Regions from separate parts of the Homo sapiens genome. Here regions 1, 2 and 4 are each linked to region 3. Evidence: promoter capture Hi-C in 16 types of primary human blood cells and fetal thymus (Javierre and others, 2016). All regions are on one chromosome and are shown on one strand. The core of a region is centred on a gene start or on the middle of the fragment in contact, and the rest is flanking DNA. Distances in the headings are between cores, read along the strand shown.

Region 1 (4,588 bases), core at 729-3,228, 6.0 Mb before region 3:
TAGGCAATCATGATGGGTGAGGGGTATGGTGCCTCATTGTCCAGATGCAGTGATCTGGTAAGTTTCAATTCCTTGATACTATCTGGGAGGCCTCATGGTTGGTTTCCCAAGAAAGGAACTCAGATAAGAAAGATGTAACTTTCTGAAGTTTTAAGACTGGGAGGGTAAATTTCCAGGTTTATTCAAAAGAAACCATAAACATCAGTTCTATAGGACAGTTGGGCTGATTTCACACCAACCAGCATTCCTTCCTGATAAGAGACCACCAACCACAGAGAAGTTCTGGCCAATCTACCAGGGACTCACAGCGAGGGTTTTCATGTCCTCTGCTTTGCCATTTGACATCAGAGGGCTGAAAACTTCACACTGGGATCATGCTAACACCACCATTTTTTGAATATGGGTCCCATAGAGAGGCAGGAAGCTTAATTGTGCATGTGCATATTTCTCCTTTCATAAATATTCATGAATCCTCCTACAGCTCATTGAATATATTTGGCCACCCTGCTCAGCATAAATTTCTGTTCCCTTTGTCCTTCCTTCCAAGTGTCTGTTCTCAGCTTCTGACCAGAGGCTATGCTTCCAAGCCTGTCAGAAAGGCCACCCTGCAGGCTGTAACCCTTCATGAGAAATAAAGCCCTTTTCTAAATTTATTAACCTCCTCATTCTTCAGTTGACATAAGTAGAGCATCATAGTCCCCACAAATCATTTCTGGGATACTCTGTTCTTATTTGTAAAACAAGGAGATAGGAAATGCATGCTATACTAAAAGTTTGTTCAAAGAACATCCGCACGTGCAAATGTCTGAGACCAGAGGCTGCAAGCCTCCCTGTCGCTCTTAGGGCTTCGGTAGCCACATTGCCACAGCTCTCCACGCCCTCAGGTAACGCCCCTCCGCAGGCCGAGACGTCGGCACGTACACTGTCAGGTCTTCCCGCTTTCCGTCGCTTCCTGTTCCGTCTTGGTCCCGCCTGCCGCTGGCGCCGTTGTTTCCGGCTCAACTGGGGAGCTGCTGGAGCTCTTCTGGCCTCTGGTTTTCCGACTGCTTATCCGACGCTCCTCCCTCTGTCTCTGTAGCTGGAGAAGGTAGTTTCCAGGAAAGTTTTCCGGTTTGCAGGCCGCGCACATCGGGCAGGGGCCATCCTCGGTCCCCTTGCTCGTTGCTCGCAGCCCCGTTCGGCTACAAGTGAGTTTCAGGGCGTCATGGCCAGGGGCCACCGCGGCCAGCCGGGTGTGAGGCTGCCTTTCGCTGCCCGCGCGCTCCAGTGGTCTCTGGGTCCGCCGGCGTCCGTTTCGGCCTGAACGCAGCCCCTCCGCGGCGACGAGCAGTCTCGCGCCGGAGCTCATGGCCTCGGAGGCGCCGTCCCCGCCGCGGTCGCCGCCGCCGCCCACCTCCCCCGAGCCTGAGCTGGCCCAGCTAAGGCGGAAGGTGGAGAAGTTGGAACGTGAACTGCGGAGCTGCAAGCGGCAGGTGCGGGAGATCGAGAAGCTGCTGCATCACACAGAACGGCTGTACCAGAACGCAGAAAGCAACAACCAGGAGCTCCGCACGCAGGTGCGCGGTCCTCCTCAGCCCCGCGCCCCATCCAGCCCAGGCGAGGCCTTCGAAGCCCGTGATAGCCTCGGAAGGGGTCCCTGGCAGGGGCTCAGAACTACTGTAGAGTACTTAAAGTAAATAAGTAGAAGCTCAGCGCAGTTACAATTCCAAGTACCTTAGGAGCAAACCTGAGTTCAGGTTACTTGATTTAAATCAATGTCTCGCGGCTGGCGTGAATTGAACTTAAGTACTGTGGCTACATTGTCTTCATTCTCACTTGACCTAACATCCCATTGGCAGTAGGCGCATTTACTGTAGATCACATTTGAGTTTATTAAAATGCTGGACTTGAGTCAGAATCCCATCTCTGCTATTCACTGGGTGTGTGAACTTATATACCGAGTCTCAGTTCCCCATTAAATGAGAATGATAGCTCACAGTAGTAAAGGTGAAGTAAAACAAACAATTTTACAAACTTTTGAATGCTATACCTGTTTAAGGTTGCTCTTCTGGGCGTTTATCATCTTCGGCTTTCTTGTGTAAGTAGGGACGATATATAACTGCTTTTGTTGGAGACGTTAAGCAGCTTATTTCGTTTCCAAGATGGTAGGGGCAAATGTTAATACTTAAACTGTCACATTAAAAACAACCTTGGCTGGACGCGGTAGCTCACGCCTGTAATCCCAGCACTTTGGGAGGCCGAGGCGGGCAGATCACCAGGTCAGGAGTTCGAGAGCAGTCTGGCCAGCATGGTGAAATACAAAATTTAGCCGGGCGTCTCTACTAAATACAAAAATTAGCCGGGCGTGGCGGCGGGCACCTGGAATCGCAGCTAGTCGGGAGGCTGAGGCAGGAGAATTGCTTGAACCTAGGTGGTGGAGGTTGCAGTGAGCCGAGATCGTGCCACTGCACTCCAGCCAGGGCGACAGAGTGCAACTCTGTCTCAAAATAAAAACCAAAAAACCAAGAGCATAGTATTTTTTTCTACCTTGTTGGCAGGCCCTCTCTGCCAACAGATTATTTCCACATAGTAACTAGTTTCAATTTGACCGTTGTCTAGTCCTTCATAATTTATTGGTGGTTTCCTAAAACCAGTATATAGGCTGAACACTGAAACGTCATCAGACTTCTTTGTTTTGTTACCAAATGGACTATGAAAATAACTGTTGAGTTGCAATGACTTTGTATGACCATTACATGGAGTTCCTGACATGACATTATTGGAAAGTTTTTGTTTAGTCAATTTAAACACCTACGGTGTGTAATAACTATGCTAGGAAAATACAAATATGGTAAAAAAAAAAAAAAAAAAAAAACAGGGAGAGGTGGCTGGGCGCGGTGGCTCACGCCTGTAATCCTAGCACTTTGGGAGGCCGAGGCGGGCGAATCACGAGGTCAGAAGATCGAGACCATCCTGGCTAACACAGTAAAACCCTGTCTCTAGTAAAAATACAAAAAAAATTAGCCGAGCGTGGTGGCGGGCGCCTGTAGTCCCAGCTACAGGCTGAGGCAGGAGAATGGCGTGAACCCGGGAGGCGGAGCTTGCAGTGAGCCGAGATTGCGCCACTGCACTCCAGCCTGGGCGACAAAGCAAGACTCCGTCTCAAAAAAAAAAAAAAAAAAAAAAATGGGGAGACGGGAGCAAAATATAACAGCCTTTTTTACATGACAGCCTTTTGAAAAGCTCCTTTATAATTCTAAATTGTTGAAGTACTGCTTGCGTTAGAGATTCTAAAAGAAAACGTTTTTTGCTAATCTTCAGAGAGCCAGCATTTTGGTGTTACTGTTAATTTGATAAATCAGACTAAATGATGGGACTTTGTGAACAGATCCTTTATTTCTTACAGAAAAGAATGTTTTTATGCTAATATTTTGAGAGGTCAGCAATTCTCCCTAAAGAATTAGAAAATTTAAGAGCTATCAATTCCCATTCATGTTATCTAATATCATTCAATGTTCACGTGGATTTAGTTATTAAATGTTAATGCCTCTTATAAGCTTTAATACACTTTAAAAAAATAGTAGTTCTGTGACTAAACTGCAGCAGAAGCGAACAGAAGGTAATTGCCTGAGAGGATCATCTGTCCTCCACATGCCTCCATTTTAGTCCAATATTAAAAATTTAATCTCATAGAAAGTCTTGACTCTACTTTGAATAGTGATAACTCCTTACTCTCCTAGTCAGCCTCCCTTGGTTGGGGAGAGGGTGGATTCGATTAACTGTCATTCCAAATTACTGAATGTGTTTTATTTGGAGCAGTTAAAAAGTTTTGCTTGAGAATGATAACTGGAGAACCATAATATGTATAGGGTTTGTACAAGACCCCAAAATAGCCTTGTGCAAATTACTTTGTCTTGTCTGATATTTTATGTGTAAAATTGGGGTTAGGACAACGAATATTTCAGGTGGTTTTGTGAATTAATGAGATGTTATCTAAAGCATCAAGTATAGTGCCCAGCATGTAGTAGATACTAAGTAATCTAATTCATAGTGATAGGGACAGTAGCCAGAGCCAGGATTTAGGGCAAGGCAATCAGGCTCCTAGGGCGAGGAATTTAATGGGGCACTAATTCCCAGCGATGAACTCTGTACTTGCATGAATCAGAGGAGCGCCTCAGATTTTTCACGATCAGTGTCTTGCTTCCCTCACTGTAGTTCCTGCCCTAGTATTAGCAACAGATCAGTTTTATCACCTTTCTCTGTTTAAGCTTTATGTATCATTAAATAAATATTTAAAAGCTTGTTTTTTAGTTGGTTTCTTGTGTGTAGTAGACATTGTCTCACATTGAGGTCCTCTCAGGCTGAGGTGTATTGACTGAGGCAGCGTATTGACCGAGGCAGCATGTTACTTGCTTTTGGGCACTTCCACACACTTGTTTCTCTCTGTCCTATGTAGTAGCATCCTTTTAAGGGTATTTTAGTGTGTGAAGTACATGGAGGACAGATGCCCCTCTCAGGCCGTCACCTTCCCTGTTCTCTTCTGCTACAGTTACTTAATTATAGGACTACTGTTTAATGAAAAAATGTATTAAAGCTTGTAAGTGGCATT
Region 2 (4,965 bases), core at 123-2,622, 5.2 Mb after region 3:
CTGCTATCCTTGAGGAAGAAAAGATGGAGAAGGTAAGTGGCTATCAACCTGTCAGAGACAACACATTCTGTGAAGTTGTACTCTTTCATTTCTGACACTGTGGTTCTTAATATCTGTCCTAAACCTGGCAGTCATTGAGGTTCGCAAAGTATCTCCTTCTATGTGACAGTAAAACTGGAATTACTATCAGAATGGAATCCATTCCTGCTAGAGTAAAACCATGAAAAGAAATCGCAGTTTTGATTATCTGCTTATCATTTTTAATAGATCACAGAGTGCAGTGTTCCTTATTTGTTGTATGGCAAGTTGATGAATAACTCTTGATTAATATCTTTTAATGTTCTGTTTCACACAGTTCTCTCAATTACATGTGAAAAATCTGTTATATAAGTAATGCTATTTAATGATTAAAATGGATATATGTTTTAAGGTAGTGCCACCCAGTCTTTTTTTTTTGGTAGAATAATATTATTATCTATTGGTTGCCTGCCTTGAAGTACAGTAATTTCTCTGTTTCCATTATTTAAAATAGGTGAGTGTCTTTGACAAAGATACAAAGAAAGGGGACAGTTATGAAAGGGAAGAAAAGATAGATGGAGATGAAAAGAAATTCAGTAGTTTCAGCAAGGGAATTAGGAGCATAATCTTTGAGAAAAGTCTTGGTTGCTTACCATTCGGGCTTTGTGATGAGTTGAAATGTCCTGAATGAGAACTGTTCTCAAATGCTTTCAAGACCAACAAAAAGTACGATACCCACACTGACCTGGAACTCTTTAAACCATTAAGATATATCACTTTTTCGCAGTTCAGTCCATATTTTTTGCAAAATGTTCTGCTTAGTTTTTCTGCTAAGAAATTACTGTTTCTGAACAAGGTTAAGTGTCGTATGCTTTCATTGTAGTTTTTTTTCCCCTAACATATACTGTTTTCCTAATTAGACTATAAATTCCTCCACAGCTGGGACCTTGTTTTGTTTTCTCGCCTTCCCCATAACAAATATCATTTAAGTGAATGTTGTAAACAGTTACTTCATTTAAATTGCCCTTAAAATGCTTTATGACAAAGACGTTATTTGTAGTAATACCTATAATGGTAAAAAGTTTGTTGCAGTCTTACAGACGATAAGATTGATCAATTGTTATATATGCTTAGTGGAATTTTATCTAGCTGTTCTAAAGAGCCATTAGACTAGTCTTTCTAATGGAAAATGTTTATTGTCTAAGTTAAAACAGCATTTGAGGCCAGGCACAGTGGCTCACTCCTGTTATTGCAGCACTATGGGAGGCTGAGGTGGGAGGATCACTAGAGCACAAGAGTTGGAGACTAGCCTAGGCAATATAGTGAGACCTCTTCTCTACAAAAAATTTAAAAATTAGCTGAGTGTGATGGGGTGTGCCCGTAGTTCCAGCTACTCAGGAGACTGAGGTGGGAGGATCACTTGGGTCCAAGAGGTAGATGTTGCAGTAAACCAAGATCATGCCACTGCACTGCAGCCTGGGCAACAGAGCAAGATCCTGTCTCAAAAAATTAAAAAGCATTTTATAGACTGCATGTTTGTGTCCCCCCTCCCTCCGCACCAGAATTCATATATTGAAGCCTTAATCTCCAATGACATGATATTAGTAGGTGGGGCCTTTGGGGGGTGATTAAATAATAAGGGTGAAGCCCTGCATGGGATTAGTGCCTTTACAACAAGAGACCCTAGACAGCTTGCTTCCACTCTTTCTTTGCTCTTCACCATGTGAGGACACAGCAAGAAAACAGACAACTACAAATCAGGAAGAGGGCCTAATTTGTGCCAACCATGCTGGCACTCTTCTCTAACTTCCCAGCCTCCAGAACTGTGAGAAATAAATTTCTGTTGTTTAAGTCACCCAGTTTATGGTAGTTTGGTTATAGTTGCCCATATTAAGACAGCAGGATGCAAAATTGTGGCCAGTATGATTGCTTTGACATGAAACAAATTTTAAGCACAAATTGCAAAAAGTAACCAAAATATATCAATCCCCACTGCTGGCATTAACACTCTAAAACAAACTTTGTATATTGGGGGATTTTATTTATTTATTTATTTATTTTTTTTGCTGACCATAGTGACTCATGCCTATAATCCCAGCACTTTGGGAGGCCGAGTTGGGCAGATCACTTGAGGCCAGGAATTCAAGACCAGCCTGGCCAACATGGCAAAACCCCCTCTTTACAAAAATATAAAAATTAACCAGGCATGGTGGCACACCCCTGTAGCCCCACCTACTTGGGAGGCTGAGGTGGGAGGATCGCTTGGGCCTGTGAAGCAGAGGTTGCGGAGAGCTGTGATGGCACCACTGCACTCCAGCCTGTGTGACAGAGCGAGACTATCTCAAGAAAAAAAAAAAAGGATGAGGATTTTTTTTGTTTTCAACATGCTTTTTAACATCCACTATATTACTCTCATCTTTCTAGGCTGGAAAAAAAAATGTTTTAAATGTTATTCTGAAGTATATTGCAACCTTTAACAATTCAGTAGACTTCTGAATTTTTATTTTCATGTAGCTTACCACAGTTGTATCTAGGAATATATCACATAGCTGATTAATTGGTGAAATAACCCTTGCAATTTTACACAGGTTGTACAGTGCACATTTTCAAGGACCACTCACATACATCCATTTGATATTTTTTGGTATCAAGAAAGTCTTTAAACAATCAGTACCACCAATAGCAGTAAAAAGACAAAACTGTCTGAAAGTACCTATCTGTTTAAAACTTTAATTAGCTTTATCCATCCATTAAATAGTTATTGAATATAAAACTGTATCATTCACTCTTCTACACTCTGAGGAAATAGTGGTAAATAAAGCAGATATTGTCCCTACTATCAGGAAATTTACATTTTAGTAGTAATAAGCCATAAATTAACAAAAACAGAAGACAGTGGTAAGTACTAGGCATGAAATTCAAACATGACTATTTTAGATTAGGTGATTAAAGAAACTAAAATACCATTTAAGCTGCTGTGTAAATGACAAGAGAATCCAGCTTTGTAAAAATTGGTGAACCCTTTGCTTGCAGAAGGGACAACTGCAAAATCTAAGGCATGATCTAGCCTGGAATATTTCAGGAGCCAAAAGAAGGCCTGCATGGTTAGAGAATAGTGACTTAAGACGCAAATACTGTAACTTTGGAGGGATAGGAAAGGGCTAGATCATGTTACCTTTGAAAGACAGGAAAGAGTTTAGATTTTATTCTATGTGCAATGGAAAAAAAAATGAGAGCATTTTAATCCAAAGAGTAATATAAGATAATATATTTTTAAAATCCACTTTGGTAATTTGTTAATTGGCATAAAGAGTCAGCTTTCATGTAACATAATTACTAACATACTTGGATTTAAATTTGTCATTATTCTTATTTTATTTGTCCCACCTCTTATATGTTCATTTTGTCTTCTTTTGCCTTTTTGATTTTTTTTTTTCTTAATTAGGCCATAGCACCTGATATTCCCAGGCAGACTCTCATCCAAGTGCCAATCAGCCCCAGCCCTGCTTAGCTTCCCAGATCAGATGAGAACAGGCATATTCAGGGTGGTATGGCTATAGACCTTTTAGATTATTTTTAATTATTCCATTTTTTCTACCTCATAAGCTTGACAGATGTCTTTTAGTATCTTTTTACTGTTCACCTCAGGTATTAAAACATGGAACCTTGGTTTATCATCTTTAAGATAATTTGGTATTATACTTCTTCCAGGACAATGTAAGGACCTGCGAACACATCAACTTCATTTACTGCCACACCTCATGTTATATACATTGTATATTCTTAATATGTATTTCCTAAATTCTCAAGACATTTTTTATACAATATGAATTTACATTTCATATTGTATAAAACATTTACTTTTTCTATTGTGTTTCGTGGTTCCTGGAATCTGAGCTTCCATCTAAGACCTTATTTCTTCTTGAAGGACATACTTTAATATTTCTTCGAATATCTACTGGTAACAATTCATTCAGATTTTCTGTCCTGACACTGTCTTATTTTACTTTCATTTTCTAAGAACGTTTTTGCTGAATTAGCAGCTATTTTATCATTTTGAAGATATATTTTATTCCTTCTGGCTTCCATTATGTCCTCTAAGACATAATGTCCATTTTGTTTTTTTCTCTTCAAAGGTAATCTTTTTTTGGATGGCTACTTTTAAGAGGTTTGTCTTAAGTTTGGTGTGCCCACATGTGTTTTGTGTTTGTTTTTTTGTGTGTGTGGTTTTTTTCTGCTTCGAGATTGATAATGTTTCTTGAATCTGGCTGTGATGTCCTTAGGCTGTTTGAGAAAATTCTTAGCTCTGTTTGATCAGACATTGCTTCTGCTTTCACTCTCCTTTCTCCTCTTCTTTTGATACTCCACTTACATTTGTATTTGACAATTCACTTTGTCCCTTGTATTTTCCATTTATTTTCTTGTCTGTTTCATCCTGAATATTTCTTCTTAACTTTCAGTTCACTATTTTCTCTTAGTAGTCTCGAATTTGTTAAATCTCTCTTGAAGCATTTATTTTAGTTATATTTTTGGTTATCAGTTCAAACATTTCTACTTGATTCTGTTTTATTGTTTCCAGTTGTTTATCCAATATCTCAATCTTTTATTTCCTCAAACATACTAATCATAATTACTTTAAAACCTGTATCTAATAACTATGGTGTCTGCTATTATCTGACACTTTTCTTGTTTCTTGCTGTTATCACATTGTCTTGCTTTTATGTCCCTTATTTTTATGTTATTTTGTATTATTTATTTTATAAACATTATAAATATATAAAACTTGGCTTAGGTTATGTTTTAATTGAATGTCAGAATTGTTTTGATTGAACTGTATATGAGGAAACTATACTTTGAAGTCCAATATGATGGTATTTTCTAAAGAAAGAATTTATGTCTCCTGGCAAGACCTTTGGACACTAGTAATCTAAGATCTTCTTAATCTGG
Region 3 (4,465 bases), core at 360-2,859:
ATTAAGTCATTACCATTGGGTTACCTCACAAATAAACTAAGTTTAGATGCGAACTCAAAGATACTGAGACACTAATCCATTTCTTAAGCTGCTAAGTTAGCCTTCTTGAAACCTCACTTCGTAGCTCTGCAAACAATGTACTTTTGACATCCCAAGCTCACAGGAATAAAAAACCACCTGCCAGTTGTTTCCGTTTTCCACCTATGTCTAATTTATGTACTTATATTTATAAGAAACAAATCACTAAGTCTTATTTCATCCTTAGTTATGTTGTGTTTCTATCGATAACAGCATGAAGATTTCGGGGACCTGGACATTAAAATAAGTTTGAGTACTGGCTTTACAATCTACTAGGTGTGATCCGAGGCAAGTCAGTCTCTTCATGTTTCACTTCTTTCACTTGTAAACATCTATTCAGAAGTTGCTGTGAACTTGATATTTCCATGCTTATAAACTGATTTTTTGAAAAGAGCCTGGTACATAGGACGTGATAATAAATGAAAGCATTTGCTACTTTTGGAAAAACAAGCATGACAAGATAGTTTATATACTGTTGATCTTAAGCACAGTATATGCATCTTATTTTTAGCTAGTCTGACAGTGAGATAATAAAAAGAGTTATCTTTGACTTGCACTACGAGTAGAAGAATTCAACTTCAGTTTCTAGAAAGATGTATAAGAATTAAGAGTGGCAGTCTTCCTAGTCTCAACTGCCATCTTCCCACCAGGTGGTAAATTCGTCCAGAGAAGAAAATGAATTATTGCTATATGGGATTCTGCAGCAACTTCTGTGAACATAGGCTCATAATTTTTCACCATGGAGACTCAAGCTTTTTGGAGTCATAGTTGTTTTTGGGTCTATTTGCAGGCATGCATCCTTTGTCCAGAAATATACATAACATTTGGCACATGGACCTGGAGGTAAAAGAGGAGGAAGGCCTGAGGCTAGACACCACTCCAATAAGTACATTAAGCTCCTAGAAGGGCAATCCACCTTTGCAGAGAACTCTTAACTATTAAAACCTATAGCTTGTAAAGCAGCATTTTCAAAGTTAAGAGAAGAAGGTGGAAGGGTCTTGAGAGGCTACTGACTAAACAGATGAAAATGAAGGTATGGAGTTTGGTGCCAAAAGAAACTCCCCCCAAAAATCAAACAATAACACCAGAGTAAAGCCCCTAGGGCGAGATAAGGAGTTGCAACAAAACAAGCGGAAACTCGAGAAGCGCTAATGCTTCAAAGGGTCAATGACCACACATAATCTACGTAGCCAACGTGTTAAAACACACCAACGCATTTTTTTTTCCTAAACAAAGTAGGAAAGCGGACTTTGCATGAGGGGCGGGCTGCCGACCCAGCAGTCTTCCTCGGACAGTCCGTCCTGATTCTCTCTGGTTGGCCGTGGAGGGACCACATGGCTCCAAGGCCTCTCAGCTCCGGGCCCACACACCCCGGGCTGCCGCACAAACTCCAGCCCTAGTCTAGATCCACAACCCCTTCTCGAAGATCAACCGCGACCTGGGAGCCCCACTTCTTACCATAGCGAGGCCGGCGATGCCGCAGCCACATCACCCTTCCGGGGCTCAGGCGGAAGAGGCTGCATGTCCCGTCTGCCCTTCTCGCCCTCTCCAGCCGTCCGGTTGGGCTTGTCACGGCACCGCCTACCAAGACGGGCGGTTAAGACACTAGGATAGGCTCCTCTCCACCGGAAAAGGCGGGATTTAGATCACGTCCCGCAGGCCGGCGGAAGTAGCTGATACTCTCATTGGTTGCAAAACCTTGATCTGTGAAAGCGGGCGTTTTGGAAGATACCGGAAGTAGAGTCACGGAGAGGTAGGATCCGGAAGTGGGGCTGCCTCTTTAAATAACAAAAATCTGAGGTTCTGTTCTTTTTATCTTTTTGCTTTCTTTTTAAAAAAGTTCCCTGCTACTTACCCCTAGAACTCCACAATGCGAGAATCCCCCTCAATTTGTGAGCTCCCGCGACTTCCTCTTGTGGGCTTTTGGGGATGCTAGGGTTCTCGGCATTATCCTCAGGGTGCGACCTGTTCACCCCCTTTTCAGTTTCTCCGTTTGCATCTGAGGGATTCTTGGGAATGCGAAGCACTTTTGAAATGCTCTGTGTTGGTTGTGGGATTGGGAGGACGGTTGAATCCAGAGGGTAGTGTTGAGTAGGCTGTTTGAGCATTTCCCCAGCACTGGCCTGTCCTTTCAATCCCCAGATATTGGTAAACTGTGGGTTCCAACCAGGCATCGAGGCTGAAACGTACTAGGCAATTTGAGGTCAGGAAAGAACTTTCTGTGGTAACCAATGGGAAGGAACTGCCGTTTGCGGACTGCAGCGATTGATTAGGTACTTTAAAGAGATCAACTGGCAAGACAAATGACAAGGCAACTTTTAATCAGTAGTAGTATTTAGCTTTTTCTGATTTTAATTATCCCATTAGGTGAGGTTCTACTACACACACACGTTTTTCTTTCTGCATTTTATCGATGGAGAAACAGGCGCTTTGACATGTTTGAATTTGCGTAGTTCTTGGAATTCTAATAAAGTATTAGAAATGAGAGTTTTTCACTCTTTGCCCCCTTATGGCAAGCTTTTGGTTCTAAATGTGTGGTGTATTTTTTCTCAGGCAGGAGAGAGTTCTTTTCAGAATGTTTTCAATTTTTTATGGACTTAGAAGGTGGATAGAGAGAAAGAGAGAAGGTAACTCACGTGAGATTTTGGTTTATGAACTGTATTCGGCCTATGAGACCCTTTTGTATTTAGGGCAACACAATGATTAGAAGATTTGGGATTCTGCTATTTGTGTTTACATTGTTCACTAGGGCACACAAAGGTTTTGTTTTAAACTATAACTAACTTGATATTTGAGTCTGTTATATTGAATTGTCAAGAGTTGGTCAAATACACAAATTAGCAAGTATTTACTGGGTGCCTGCTTTATTCATGGATCTTCAGATTGCAGCATAGGAACAAAGATGGTCTGTTCCTTTAAGGAATTTAATAAGGTTGGGGGAGAGGGGAATAAGAAAGGTATTTAAAAGATACAGTACTCTCCACCTAAGGATAAAAAAAGTCTTTTAATGTTCTGTCTTGTAATTCCTTTATATTATACCTTTTAGGTCTTGCCATTCAAATTAAACAAACCTGGTTTAGTTATGGAAATTATGTTGTGCAATTTATCGAGCTTGGCTTTTAGGGCAGTAAATGTGTCTGTAGACATAACTGCCCTTGGTTTCATGTGAAGATTGTCTTGATCTTTGTTACATATAAAGGTAATACTTCTGTATGAAGCTCTGCTTCAGGCTACCTGTGAAAAGCATCAGAAAGCTTAACTTGTTAGAGATCACAATTGATTTGCTATATCTATATATTTTAATTAATTTTAGGCTATGACTTCTTATGTACCTGAGCTTCAAAACAGTAAAGAACGGCATTGCCAGTTTTTAAGTTATCTATAGAGAAACACATATGCCAATAAATGAGGCTGAACAAATATGTATAATGTTTATTGCATTTATGTAAAACATCAAAGTTAATCTGACGTGGTGAGTTTTTTTTGGGAGGTGGTAGTTTAGCTCCATTGTCTTACATAAACCCCCTACTTTTTGGTTTTCAGATTATATCACAATTTCTAAAATCTTTCTGGCAGCTTTGCAGTGAATCCTCATTTAAAACCATCTTGGATCCTTTCCTTACTAGAAATAAAATCTGTCTGTGTTATTCCTTTGTTCAAAAATTATTATTTATTTTTATTTTTGAGACAGGATCTTGCTCTGTTGCCCAGGGTGGAGTGCAGTGGCACAATCATGACTCACTGCAGCCTCAACCTCCAGGGCAGAAGCGATCTATCCTCCTCCCTCAGTATCCCCAGTAACCGGGACCATGGTTGCATGCCACCATACTTGGCTAATTTTATTTTATTTTTTGTAGAGACAGGGCTCACTATGTTGCCTAGGCTGGTCTCAAACTCCTGGGCTCAAGTGATCCTCCCGCCTCGGCCTCCCAAAGTGCTGGGATTACAGGTGTAGGCCACCGCACCACGTCTGGCCTGTTCAAAAAGTATTATCTCACCTGCATCTGGAAGAATATTTCCAACTTTGGTTTCATGGGTATATTAAAATCGTATGTAAAAATAGTGGATATTTGTAGTTTTCTGTGGCGCCAGTGCACAGGTGTCCTCAGTGTTATGAGGATTACATGAGTTATTACAAGTAAATCATCTAGGCAAATGTTTGGCATACAGTAAGCACTCAGAAAGTGTTGGCTATTACTGTGCATGGCTTTGTCTTTGCTAAATTAAAAGTCCCTGGAGAGGAGGAATTATAATGGAGGAATGGTTGAATTGCATATATTAGGCACTAAATACAGTAGTCCCTCCTTATCTGAGGTTTTGATTTCTGCAGTTTCAGTTACCCATGATCAACCACAGTCTGAAAATATTAAGTAGAAAATTCCAGCCG
Region 4 (4,454 bases), core at 1,725-4,224, 7.3 Mb after region 3:
AAGGGTACCATGATTATCCCTTAGCAGAACATGGAATATTTTCGGAGTGTCGTAAGTGTATGGATAGTTTTACGGTACAACGTCTACATAGTGGGAGAGGGCAACAGAGGGTTAGAGGTTAGAACTGAAAGGTAAAAAAATGCAAGAAATTTAGGAAATCCAAGAGACAGACTGCCAATTAAAGTCACTAAAATGGGTCTCCAATTACACCGTAAAGCAGGGCCCTGGGAGAAGAGGAAAGAGTTTTTGTTATTTCCAAAATTTATAGGTGGGTGATTGCATTAGCAGCGGAGCAGCCGAGGTGGGGCCCTGACCAGGCACACGGATGAATGAAGGGATGTCCGCGACCTGATCTGAGAAACAAGAGTAGAAGCCTCGCGATATTTCATTCCCACCTCGCTCGCAACTAAGCCCAACCTTCTGGCAGTCCAAAGCCCTACGCGCTGACAGAAATAACCTCCTTAGCAGAAATGCACTGGTCTCGTTCCCTGCAGGGCATCAGAGCCCAGAGGGTGAGTGATCCGGGCAGGCTGCCCTAGGCTCCTTTCCCGCGTCCCAAACTACATCCCCTGCCTCGCCTCGGCCCCAAACGTCCTCCCTTCCACACACACCCTCCCTGGGCCCCGCTCCGGGGTGTGGAGAGCACTGCCGCCTCCTTATTACCGACCTCAGAGCTAAACTCATTATCTCTTCGCACAGAGACGTTCCTCTCAAGAACGATTTTAACCCCCTACCCAAGGCAGCAAGACGCCCACAGCCGTTCAACAGACACGAACGACCTCAGCGGCCTCAGGGACCTCCCACAACATAGACACTTTTGAGCTGGATTGGTTGAAATGTCGCTATGGTTCTGCCTATTAGGGGGCGGAAGCTTTACCAGTTCTATTTTCATTGGGTAGGTTTTACGTCAATCAAGGAAAAAAAAATTTTTTTTCTGTGCCCCGCCCACCTCCTAACGCCCCCCCGCCCCCCCAATCTAGGGCCGCTCTCGCCCTTCGGATTGGCTCGATGCGTTTTTCCCCGAATCCTTTGCGGGTCCGGCCTCCGATCCCTGTGTGGCTGTTTGGCGGGTGGGCGCTGTGTTCCTCTCTCGTAAAGCCGTGCGGTCTGTGGGCCGCCATTCAGAAACTGGATGGACAGCTTCGGCGGTGGGAAGGGAAGGGACATGCTGCAGGCCACCCTCCGGCTAGAAGGAGGGAGTACTTGAGGAACAAGGTCTGCGAAAATTGGCTGTGCTCTGTTCTAAAACTTGGAATGGCCTCAGTACCTGGGGAATGTGTTTAAAATGCAGACTTAAATGTCCGTTTCTCCATTCTAATTTCAGTAGGTATGAATCTGCGTTTTTACTCCTCACAAGCCTTCCAAGTGATTCTGAGGCAGGTGCTGTGGCTGTACTTGGATTATCACAGGGTTAGATTATCAGGCTATTTATGATTTAGCTGTATCTAAACCACCTTTCCCTCTCTTTCCTCCTTTGAACTGTTTGAAACGGATTTGTTCCCTTCTGTCTCTTATTTTTCAGTGCTGTAAGCTGTTAACACACATGAGACTGTCTTCACTACCAAACCAAGTCTCCTAAAGCTCACTTGAATGTCTGCTTATTCGTGTCTCTTACTAGGTTCAATTTCTTGGAGGCCGTGATTATATCTATTTAACGCTTTTCCTTGTACCTAATAAAATGTCTGGTGCGTAGGTGCTCGGTAAATTGAGTGGAATCTTTTGAAAATCCACAAAATACTGAGCTAAACAGCAAATCTCATAAACGTGAATAAAATAGCCTGAGGATGGGAGTTGAAGGCGGAGAATATATAAACATTATATGTTTAAGGGATGTATATAAAATTTTAGAGAAGGGAGAGAACACAAGATATGCTTCTTAAAGGAGGTGACATAAACGTTAGACCTAGAAGGATGGGCTAAATTTGCACAAGGAAAGATAGTATGATAGAATAAGCTAAAAATTAGCTAAGGGATAGCACCCCTAAAAAACAAAAGTGGAACTTTTATTTTGTTCGTATTTTAAATTTTAAAGTACCTTTATAAATCACCTTTGAGTCTAAAAGGAAAGAGAAATTGTAGTTACTAGAACATAATGATATTGAAAAAAACTATATGTTAAAATTTTAAGATACAGACCAAGTTATAGGAGAACATTATTTTAAATAAGAAAGAATAAAAATAGGCCAAGCATTTATTTGAAGATGTTAGAAACGAAGAACAAATTGTATAATTGAAATTAGGAAGAGGAAATTAGTAAAGATAAAGTTTGAGAACAGTGTTTTAAAAGGAAATTGGTAAAATTGATAAAGTACTCATAATCTAGTATAAAGCTGGTTTTTGGCAATACCAGTGAAATTCAAAGACTTATAGGAAGTGTAACAAGAAAAGGAATAGTGCCACTAGTAAGGTTGGTAATTTAATAAAAGGGAGGTTTAAAAATTATTAAAATATTTTATACAATTTTATACCGCCAATAAATATTAATAGAAAATGAAATAGTCACTTTTCAAGGAAAACATAACTCAAAAAAGGTGGAAAACTGAATTAAGTCAATAACTACAGACAGGACTGGAACAAAGATGCCAAAGTTCTGTACTCACAAATAAAAAGCCTCCAGCCCACTCAGATTTATGATTAAAAATCATAAGAGCTAAATCTTGTGCTTTAAACTCAAGTCATAGAAAATGATGGAGAGCTTCTTAGCTTAATTTTTGAAGCTGCCATAATCTTTCACATCCTAAAAGAACATTTAAAGTCACTCAGTGTAAGCTCAGTGATGATGAAGGCTATGCATGTTTCTCACCATTGTATCCCCAGTGCCTGACTCATGTTTGATGTTCATTTGTGAACTTAAGTGCAAAATTCCTAGATGTTAGCAAAGTCAGTTTGATACTGTCTTAAAGGAACATTTCTCTATAACTAAATTGAGTTTTTTTTTGTTAAGTGCAAAGATAATTCAAAATATAAATCTGTGTTAAATAATTATAATGTTAGGTTAAGGAAATCATCTCAGTGTCAAAAAGGCACTGAATAATAGGTAACACCTTTTCTATTAGGATATAAAGTGGGTTTAGAAAATACTTTTTTAAATATGATCGGCAGAATACTTAAACACCAGTGTTTCTCAAACCTCATTCCTGAAACACTAGGATTTTGTGAGATGCTTTTGGTCTCAGAGTGCGTTTTATAAGCAAATAATTTGGGCAAACAGATTTTAAAAGGTTTTCAATAGGGTGTCCTTTTAAGAGAGTGACAGGGAATTTACACGCATCACTTTTATTATATTTAATTAGTGAGAACTAGTGACAACCACTTCTTGCTTCACGGGAGGTTGAGGCAAGAAATCTCTAGATGGAAAACTGCTCTGCTGAAACTTGGGGTCTAATCATCTATTACTAAAGATAAGACAGGTGGTTACACTAATTATATTTTAAACCTAAATTTGATGCAATCAAAATTCTCATATTTTTCTTGAATTGAACAAAGGTATTCCAAAGACCATCTCAACAACAATTCTATAAAAATAACTTACTAAACTGTGAAAAAGAATAATAATACAAAAATTGCTGTATGGGACACTAAAATGTATTTGGTACAATGGTAATCAGACCAGAAATTCCAGAGACAGCCAAATGTAAATAAAAATGTCTGCTTTGAAAAGGTAGTGACATAAATATTTGTTTAGTCTGCCTCCTAAAGCCTTAATAAATCAAGAGTTCCTCTATCACCCACGCTGGAGTGCAGTGGCATAACTCACTGTAACCTCAAACTCCTGGGCTCAAAGGATCCTCCCGCCTCAGCTCCTGAAAAGTTAGGACTACAGAAGCATGCCACCATGCTCAGCTAATTTTTTTTAAATTTTACACTGTGTTGCTGTGTTGCCCAGGCTGGTCTAGAACTCCTGGTCTCAAGTGACCCTCCAGCCTCAGGCTCCCAGAGTGTTGAGATTACAGGAATTAGCTCCCATGCCTAGCCAATAAATTAATTTCTAAAGCTGAAGTGACCTGGAGAGGGACCATCAGCAGACTAGGTATTTAAAAAATTATTGGAAAGATCAAAAGAAATATGGAAACTTGTTGACAAATGAAACAGATCACTGAAGTGGCATCCTATAATTTTCCAGAGATGACTTATGTTTCACAGAGAGTTGATCTACCTAGCAAAGTCCCAGAGAGACTCCAGGAATAGAGTTCCCTTGTACAGTAGAAGGTGGAAATGAGAAGGGGGCTAAAAACAAAATGTCAATTTAAAACCTCTTTAGGAAACCACTGTACTTCAGTTCCTCCAGATTCCTCTCCCCAGTGTTTTGTCTCTTTACATCTATCTAGAACTCCACTCTTTTTTTTTTCCTTTTTTTAGAGACGGGGGTTCTCTCTGTTGCCCAGGCTGGAGGGCAATGACATGGCCTTAGATCATAGCTCACTGCAACCTCAACCTCCTGGGCTCAAGCAACC

The links. Contacts are between HindIII fragments. The CHiCAGO score rates a contact against its expected background, and 5 or more counts as called.
Region 1: a fragment that was not itself captured here is called in contact with the fragment with the promoter of TMEM167A in region 3 in 1 of 17 cell types (non-activated CD4 T cells); the score reaches 6.8 in non-activated CD4 T cells.
Region 2: a contact is called between a fragment that was not itself captured here and the fragment with the promoter of TMEM167A in region 3, in 1 of 17 cell types (activated CD4 T cells). The highest score is 6.2, in activated CD4 T cells.
Region 4: a contact is called between a fragment that was not itself captured here and the fragment with the promoter of TMEM167A in region 3, in 1 of 17 cell types (non-activated CD4 T cells). The highest score is 5.6, in non-activated CD4 T cells.

The regions. Positions count from the first base shown.
Region 1 is chr5:77,029,421-77,034,008 of GRCh38, forward strand. It overlaps AGGF1 (angiogenic factor with G-patch and FHA domains 1), which reads left to right and starts at 984. Exons shown (of 14, transcript NM_018046.5): 1 at 984-1,556. The coding sequence starts at 1,347. RefSeq lists enhancers at 642-1,221, 861-1,210, 1,222-1,801. The HindIII fragment of the contact is 3,112 bases long and covers 423-3,534 here.
Region 2 is chr5:88,270,797-88,275,761 of GRCh38, forward strand. All of the region lies in intron 2 of TMEM161B-DT (TMEM161B divergent transcript), which reads left to right. It also overlaps the pseudogene RNA5SP187. Among named protein-coding and RNA genes, the nearest start is that of TMEM161B-DT, 4.4 kb to the left of the region's middle. The HindIII fragment of the contact is 4,499 bases long and covers 1-3,622 here.
Region 3 is chr5:83,075,785-83,080,249 of GRCh38, forward strand. It overlaps TMEM167A (transmembrane protein 167A), which reads right to left and starts at 1,610. Exons shown (of 4, transcript NM_174909.5): 1 at 1,537-1,610. The coding sequence starts at 1,539. XRCC4 (X-ray repair cross complementing 4) reads left to right here and starts at 1,763. Exons shown (of 8, transcript NM_003401.5): 1 at 1,763-1,831. RefSeq lists enhancers at 726-1,691, 1,348-1,617, 1,692-2,657 and a silencer at 1,678-1,767. The HindIII fragment of the contact is 1,765 bases long and covers 829-2,593 here.
Region 4 is chr5:90,408,978-90,413,431 of GRCh38, forward strand. CETN3 (centrin 3) reads right to left here and starts at 779. Exons shown (of 5, transcript NM_004365.4): 1 at 668-779. The coding sequence starts at 684. It overlaps LOC731157 (a long non-coding RNA gene), which reads left to right and starts at 1,023. Exons shown (of 2, transcript NR_105024.1): 1 at 1,023-1,327; 2 at 1,523-1,692. RefSeq lists an enhancer at 549-748. The HindIII fragment of the contact is 4,211 bases long and covers 870-4,454 here.